3 separate regions of the Homo sapiens genome follow, and regions 2 and 3 are each linked to region 1. The links are contacts of gene promoters, found by promoter capture Hi-C in blood cells and fetal thymus (Javierre and others, 2016). All regions are on one chromosome and are shown on one strand. Each heading gives the region's core, a stretch centred on a gene start or on the middle of the fragment in contact. The rest is flanking DNA. Distances are from core to core; before and after follow the strand shown.

Evidence for each region. Contacts are between HindIII fragments. The CHiCAGO score rates a contact against its expected background, and 5 or more counts as called.
Region 2: a contact is called between a fragment that was not itself captured here and the fragment with the promoter of PICK1 in region 1, in 1 of 17 cell types (endothelial precursors). The highest score is 6.0, in endothelial precursors.
Region 3: a contact is called between a fragment that was not itself captured here and the fragment with the promoter of PICK1 in region 1, in 3 of 17 cell types (endothelial precursors, M0 macrophages and total B cells). The highest score is 5.8, in endothelial precursors.

Annotation. Positions count from the first base shown.
Region 1 is chr22:38,056,075-38,058,690 of GRCh38, reverse strand. It overlaps PICK1 (protein interacting with PRKCA 1), which reads right to left and starts at 1,287. Exons shown (of 13, transcript NM_012407.4): 1 at 1,104-1,287; 2 at 841-938. The coding sequence starts at 881. RefSeq lists enhancers at 586-1,209, 1,454-1,513, 1,210-1,835. The HindIII fragment of the contact is 5,557 bases long and covers 560-2,616 here.
Region 2 is chr22:38,423,647-38,426,262 of GRCh38, reverse strand. LOC105373030 (a long non-coding RNA gene) reads left to right here and starts at 2,045. Exons shown (of 5, transcript XR_938254.4): 1 at 2,045-2,421. It overlaps LOC101927183 (a long non-coding RNA gene), which reads right to left and starts at 1,985. Exons shown (of 3, transcript XR_938252.3): 1 at 1,840-1,985; 2 at 1,291-1,450. The HindIII fragment of the contact is 1,005 bases long and covers 832-1,836 here.
Region 3 is chr22:38,401,572-38,404,187 of GRCh38, reverse strand. No RefSeq gene overlaps it. Among named protein-coding and RNA genes, the nearest start is that of TPTEP2-CSNK1E, 4.0 kb to the right of the region's middle. RefSeq lists a cis regulatory region at 1-48 and enhancers at 1-174, 175-676. The HindIII fragment of the contact is 2,632 bases long and covers 1-2,613 here.

The sequences.
Region 1 (2,616 bases), core at 38-2,537:
CATCTCAATTTCCTCATCCATAAAATGTGGATGAGCACCCTTATCAGAGTTCTTCTAACCATGCATGGAGGGCACTAACAGCAACCCAGTCCATAGCAGGCACTCCATAAAAATAGGTCCCCCTTCCCTTTCATTTATTCGATCTCTGAGATTTGAGCCAGGTTCTGTCCTTGTCACCTTATCAGGCATCTATGTAGTATGATGGCCACCTACTCCAGGGAGTCTTCCTCTATTAAACTGTCCACCTCCCACCTCTCAACTGCTCGATTACCTCTCGGTTTCCACTATAAATTAGCATTGACTGGTGTTTTATGATAAGTACTCACGCTGATTCACTTATTCATTCAAAAAACATTCGCTAACAACCTACTGACGTCAAGTCCCTTACTAAGTGCTGAGCATAGAGAAAGGCATTGCACCCACTCCTTGATCTGAAAGAGGATATATTCTAATGGGAAAATCTGTCCTACTAACAACCTATGTTGGGAAGGAAGGGTGTCTACAATATTCCTATTCAACCTTCAAAACCTGGTTCAATTGCTACGTCCTCCATGAAGCTTTCCTTGACCATCCCAGCAGAAGCACTGCTCCATCTGCTTTGCTCTTCTTGTCACCAAGTCATGCTAATAGTGCCCTTATGGCACTGAGCTGTGATTATCCCTTTAACTGTCCACAGCCCCCTACAAATAGTGAGCTCCTGGGAGAGCAGGGTCCATTGCTGCTTCAGTACAACAACTGATCCACCGCTGAGAAGCAAGGGTCTGTGGGACTGGGAAGTCCAGGGAAATGAGGAACTTGGGGCTCCTATACTGCTGGAACTTGGGGGAATAAAATACTCACAGTTTATCCTCTTCGATGTCATAATCCAAGTCTGCAAACATGGTTCCGAGAGTTGGAGTGGGCTGGCTAACTGCCCAGCTCGGTAGGGGAATGGGGAACTGGATCCGGGAGAGAAAGGAGCATAGGATTTAAGGAACCCAAGTGCCTAAATGCCAACGCCACCCCTCCCTCCACCACCTCATACGGGACAGCAGTGCCCTCCTCTTCCCTCTGGAGTGGGATGGGACAGTCTCCGGGTGGGGGGCTGGGTAGGTGATTCTTACTAGGTACAAAGGGGGGCTCCAGGCCAGGGCGATAGGCTCAGATCCCAGAGTCCGCCCCACGGGTCTCCAGGCCCTGGGGAGCTGCCTCTGTCGCTCACCGGAAGCGTTGGTCCCACAGCCGGGTCCCGGCCAGGCTGGTACCTGAACCCACCTGCCGTTCCACCTGGCGGTGGCCGCGATTGTCACGTCACTTCCGGCAAGACGCGGAAGTCCCGGCTTTCCCCCCACTGGATATTTGCTCCAATCCCTGCAGACAATCCTTCCCTTCCCGGCTCCCGGGACGCTCGGAACCAAGAACGAGAACAAGTATTGGCGGAAGCTCGCTGTTAGTAGGAACAAGCGAAAACAGAGGAACGGTCTGGACAGGCTGACAGCGTCTAACCCCGCCCTTTGCCCTGCCGCCGCCGCCATCTTGGGAAGGGCAGGGTTTGTCCCAGCTTCCTCAGCTGCACTCAGGGGCCCGCGCCGGCCCGGCGGTTGCCATGGCAACGAAAGCATCCCTGAGCCGGGGTTACCTCCGGCGAGGCTCAGTGGACTATAAACCCCAAGACATCATGCCCTTTCACCCCTTCACCACCTGGGCCTGTGACTCCCCTACTAGAATGGCCCTTTGAGGTCCCAGCCCATCCCAGTTTCGCCAACTTAAGTGCCAAAGAGCGGGGAGTGATTTTGTGCGGGGCCACACACAGTTGGTGTAAGATCTGGATCGTGGCCCTGAAACTCCCGCCGCCTAGTCTAGGGATCTTTGAACGTCCAAACACTAAACAGAGAGCCAGGAGAGGTGTATTCAGTGGGTCTTGCTATTAAGGACAGACTGGACATGCTCCCTTCCCTTTATGTGCCTCAGTTTCCCCATATGTAAACCAAGGCCATTGAGGTAAATGCTTTCTATGGTATATGGTGAAAGGTTTCTCACACCCCCTCCTCCTTCCTTAGTCCTGAGGAGCAGCCCCCCTGGGGTCCCAGGGAGGGTCACGGTCCGCATGTACCTGAGGCTCGGGAAATGCTATCAGTGCTCCCCAGAGTCCGAATCTTGTCTCCTCGCCAGCCTCTGCTGCCACTGCTATTGTGTAAAGTGGGTTCCCTGGGGGAGGTTGGCTCTCCCAGAGCCACAGCCAGGCATCCACCTCATCCGGCAGCATGGGGCCAGGCCCATCCAGCTTGCTTCCCCAGCTGCCCCAGGAGCCATGGAAGAAAGATACAGAAGGATGATTATCCACATATCCCACGGCCGGTGGAAGCCCCGCCCTACTCTCTCCTTAGGTGGCTAATTGAGTCCGGACAGATGTGCAGAATGCCGTGACAATAACAGCCTTCCCACGTGTCCACTGCTCTCCTGTGAGATCACTTTCACAGGATTTGAAAGCTCACCACCACCCTGTGAGAGAAGACCAAATCTTGCCAGCCACATTGTGCAGGCAAGGAAACGGAGGCCCTGGGAAGCCTCTTCCTCTGGTATCATAGCGGCAGGGCTGGGGCTGGGAAAACCAAGCTCTGTTTCCAGGCCAGAATT
Region 2 (2,616 bases), core at 85-2,584, 370 kb before region 1:
CACCCAGCCCATCAAGCCTAGCGCCTTCCCCTGCCCAGCTGGCTGGCCCCTTGAGGCCCTCAACGCCAGCCACCTTGGCCCTTGGATGGTGTTGGGTTTGGGTGCAGAGGAGGGACTCTGAGGGGTGGGATGAGGGACCATCCCTCCCTCCCTGCAGTCCCTCCAGCCCCGGGCCCAGCCCAGATTGACAACAGAGTTTGTAACCATATATATATATATATATATATATTTTTTTTTTATTTTTTATTATTATTTTTTTTTCTTGAGACGGAGTTTTGCTCTTGTTGCCCATGCTGGAGTGCAATGGAGCAATCTCGGCTCACTGCAACCTCCGCTTCCCAGGTTCGAGCGATTCTCCTGCCTCAGCCTCCTGAGTAGCTGAGATTACAGGCATGAGCCACCATACTCAGCTAAGTTTTGTATTTTTAGTAAAGATGGGGTTTCACCATGTTGGCCAGGCTGGTCTCGAACTCCTGACCTCAGGTGATCCACCCACCTTGGCCTCCCAAAGTGCTGGGATTACAAGTGTGAGTCACCGCACCCAGCCGTAACTATATATTTTTAATAAAGTACATGGTCCATTAGGGGTAGGCTGGTTGAAGATGGAGGGGTGAGAAGGAGAGAAAGAGAGTGAGCAAGCACACATGTAATTGTGCCTGTGTGTGTCGTGTGTGTGCCTGTGTGTCATGTGTGTGCCTGTGTGTTATGTGTGTGCCTGTGTATGTGGCCCTTTCTGAGTGACTGACCCTTGGAGGGAACTTTACCACCTGCCATTCTCCTTCCGGCGAGTCAATAGAAGGATCTGGAGTTGGCATCAAAGAACCAAAAGCTTTGATGTCAGAGCTTTGTTACCTAGTAGCTGTGTGACTGTCAGCTCTTGGCCTCAGTTTCATCCTCTGCAGAATGGGATTAACCATCCCTCCCGCCTGCAATGATGGGCAGGACAGCCCTGTGTGGACGTCAGCCAACCCTTCCTAACTCAGGTGGAAGTGGGAAGGGCCCACCCGATCCGCACCTCCCTACATACATGCAGATCCACACACCGCTGGTAGAGCTGGCGGCAGGACACTGATGGGAAGGGCACAGGGGCCAGGAAACCTGGTCACAGACTTAACCAAGACAGGCTTGGTCTCTGCTCTCTGTGGGACCTCGGGTAAGTCCCTTCCCTTCTCTGCCTTCGGTTAGCCTATGCTCTATAACCAGCCAGCACAAAACAGAGACCAATGACGCATCCTCTCTTAGGGTCCTGTGGGTGGGCTGGGGTTCCTAGCTGATTTCTCCTGGGCTTACCCGGCAGCTGTGCTCAGCTGGAACATCAGTGGGCCTGGAAAACCCCCGATGAGCCCATGTACATGTCGGCAGCTGGTATGGCTTTCTGGGGTGGTGGTGGGGTTTGGTTCTCCTCCAATAGGCTGCATCACATTCCTTCATGGCGACTCCGGGCAGCAACCTACGAGGGCAAAGGTAGAAGCTGCAAGGTCTCCGGAGGCCTAGCCCCTTGAACTTGGATAACATCATTTCCACTGCAGTCTATCGGCCAGAGTCCAGGTCACGAGGCCAGCCCAGATTCAAAGGGTGGGAAATTAGTTTCCACCTTTTGGGAAAGAGGCAAAGTCACATTGCCAAGGACATGCCGAGCAGGAGGGAGCTGTGGCCATAGTTGGTCATCTATCCCAGAGCCTTGGAGTTTGAGGGTTCCTCCCACCCGACTTCTACTCTACAGGCTGACTGTGTGCCCCAGGCTGAAAGGAAGCAGAAGGCACCCTTCTGGGTCCCAGGGATCTTCCACACAAAGGTGCCAGCTGCCTCTAGAAACAGGGAACCAGCAGGCAAGCTTACCTGCTGTGCAGCACAGCGAGCTGCCTTGTGAATGACCACGTCTCACCAGCCCCGGCAGCATAGCTGCCGTTTGGGTGGATCACTGTGCACCCCGTATGCTGCGCTGCTGCAGAAGGAAACTTGAGGCCTCTTTCCTGGAGACAGAGCCAAGCTCAGGATCCAAGCCTCCCAATAGATAACTCATAATGTCTCTCATTTGCATAACACCTTTCACGTCCTTGGGTTCATTGAACTCTTACGAAACTCCAAGAGGAAGCCAGGACAAGGATTATGGCCTCCTTTTACTGATGAGGAAATAAATAGAGGCCCAGAGAACCAGGGGGCTGGCTGGAAACAAAGTGAGGACAGTCAGAGGCCCGGGAGCCTGCTTCTCCTTCACTCCATCCTCTCCCAGGTGGGGGCTCAATGAGGGGGAGGGGCTGCTTCCTTTCCTCCTCTGTGCCCTCCCAGATTTCCCAGAGTGCACCTGTGGCCTTTGGCCCCCACCCCCACCGAAGAGCCTGTGGGGGCCGCTCAGCAAGAAGGAAATTCAGTGGCGCATCTGCCCACATTCTGGAAGGACCCCTGGTCCCCTTCTGTCAGGTGAGTACCCCAGGGTCTCAATCCTGACCCTGGAGGCTCATGAGAGATGTCCCTCTATCCAGCCCTGCAGGCCCTGGGTGGGTCTCGCCAGGTCTCCCCACTCCTCCCACCACATCCCCAGGATGCCACGGCTTCCTGGGCTACGAGCAGTAACTGAAGAGGATTCAGGCTCAGGTGCTCCCAGACTCAGAAGCC
Region 3 (2,616 bases), core at 48-2,547, 350 kb before region 1:
AGTGAGGATAAGGACTAACAGGCTTTATTTGGAACCAGGGAAGTCATGCAAATATATGCAAAAGATCATGCAAATGAGCCTGGCTGGGTGGCCGGTGGGAAGAGGACCCAGCTGGCGATTTTGTTCCTAAGTGTGGTCCAGGGCCACCTGTGACAGAATCACCCAGGAGCTCATCCTGGCCCCTGCCACCCATAGCCCTGCTGCTTCCTCCCTTTGGGGCTGCAGCCCAGGAGTCCACATGCCCAGGGAGCTCCCGGGTGACGACTGACTTCCGCATTCATTCATGGACCTGCGCGTGGTGACGCATTATAATGATACCACATTATAATATGTAACACAGACATTCAAGCAGAAAAGTATGTCTCCCTCCCACCCCCATTCCCAGACACAACCCCCGGTGCCAATTCCTTGTGTGTCCTTTTTTTTTTTTTTTTTTTGAGACAGAGTCTCACTCTGTTGCTCAGGCTGGAGTGCAGTGGCGTGATCTTGGCTCTCTGCAGCCTCCGCCTCCCAGGTTCAAACAATTCTCCTGCCTCAGCCTCCTGAGTAAATGGGCTAACAGGCGTGCACCACCATGCCCGGCTATTTTTTGTATTTTTAGTAGAGACGGTTTTCGCCATGTTGGCCAGGATGGTCTCCAACTCCTGACCTCAGGTGATCTGCCCGCCTTGGCCTCCCAAAATGCTGGGATTACAGGTATGAGCCACCGTGCCTGGTCCCTTGTGTGTCCTTCTGGAAGCTACTCTATACATTCCCAGGTGATTCCGCCTCCAACTGTTCAGATCCACTGCATCTTTGCATCTTAGGGCGATGCCTCTGGGTCACTCTGAAACTGAACTGTCACCCTTACATGTCTTTATTCACTTACTCAAAATTCCTGAGGAGGCTGCTGAATGCAGGGCCCATGCCAGGCACAGGGGAGACTCCGCTCTGCCCTCAGGAGCTCGCAGGAGATGGGGAGCCATTCATTTACAAAAGGCAGCAGCCCAGTGGTTAGAGCCCCAGCTCTGCAGTCAAGATGCTGGGTTCGGCAAGACCTCTCCTTCCCTGAGGGTAGTAATGGTACTTGCATCTCAGGGCAGCAACGTCATGGGCAAGAGGCTCATGCAAGCGTGAGAGCAGAGCAGTGTCTTTAATAAATGCTGCTTTCCTTCCAGAAAACAAGACTTTGCCTAGAGCAGATGCAATGGGGTCAGGGAGGCTTTTTGAACATTCGCTGGCCAGGCTTGGGGCCAATCGGTATGAGCTGCTGGTGGCAATCAGGGCTTCTCTCTCTTTTCTTTTTTCTTTTCTTTTCTTTTTTTTTCTTTCCTTCCTTTCTTCCTTCCTTCCTTCCTTCTTTTCTTTCTTCTCTCTTTCTTTCCTTCCTTCCTTCTTTTCTTTTCTTTTTTTCACCCAGGCTGGAGTGCAGTGGCATGATCTCAGCTCACTGCAACCTCCGCCTCCCAGGTTCAAGCGATTCTCCTGCCTCAGCTTCCCGAGTAGCTGGGACTATAGGCAAGCACCACCACACCCAGCTAATTTTTGTATTTTTAGTAGAGATGTGGTTTCACCATGTTGGCCAGGATGGTCTTGATCTCTTGACCTCGTGATCTGCCCACCTCGGCCTCCCAAAGTGCTGGGATTACAGGCTCGAGCCACCGCGCCCGGCTGGGCTTGTTTTCTTGTCCCATTCTCAGGCAGAGCTCTCTCTGGCTACGGTTCCAGTGCTGTGGGGCCTGGATGGGCAGCTGTGACAACAGAAGGTCCACAGCCCTTGGCCTGTGTTCAGGGGCCCCGGGGCCAGGGGGAGCCCGGCAGTCTCTCCTGTGCTCATTCTGAGTCTCTCTGAATCAGCCCTTACCTTCAAGGCCTGCCTCCTCCAGGCAGCCTTCCTAACTGCTTCAGCCAGAAGGGGAAGGGGAGGACATGCTCACCACCCGCCGGGCTTACTAAATACCTGCTGCTGGGTCCAGCGCTATGACATTAAAATAAATAAATAAATAAAAAATAAAAATAAACTCTAGTTTAATCCTTCCAACCCTTATGGAAGGAGGCATTTCACACCCACAGGTGCGGCAACTGAGCCTCAGAAAGGTGAAGAGACTTGCCCAAGGCCGCCCAAAGAATCAGCCTCCATGTGGGCTCTAAGTCTGCCCTGTTCCTGTCTTTGGGACTCCCGCCCGGAGAGCCCGAGCCCCTCAGCAGCAAAGTCCCAGGGACTGTGGAGGGACTGGGATAGCTGGACTCCTGTCGGCAGGGATGCTCATCACTGGGTGACCTTGGTGACATGGCCCGCTCTCCTTCCTCCCTGGAACTCGATGATCTCATCTATCAAATAGTGCCTGGCCTGCGACCCAGGGAAGCTGGGAGCATGTCTTGTCTATACCTCCAGTCCCTCTGGGCCCCTCTCCCAGCCTCCACACACTTCTCCAGCTCAGAGGGTGCCAAACAAGCTCAGCACCCCCTGCTGCTCCCCACCAGGCCCCTTCCAGTCCCACAGTCCCCCATTTCCTGGGCCAGAGTCCTGAGCAAACCCTTGGAGTCTTCCTTTTCTTGCCCCCACATGCAGTCACCAGGTCCTTTAGCTTCTCCCAACAAAGGGCCCCAGCTGGCATCTGTCTCCACCAAGCTTTG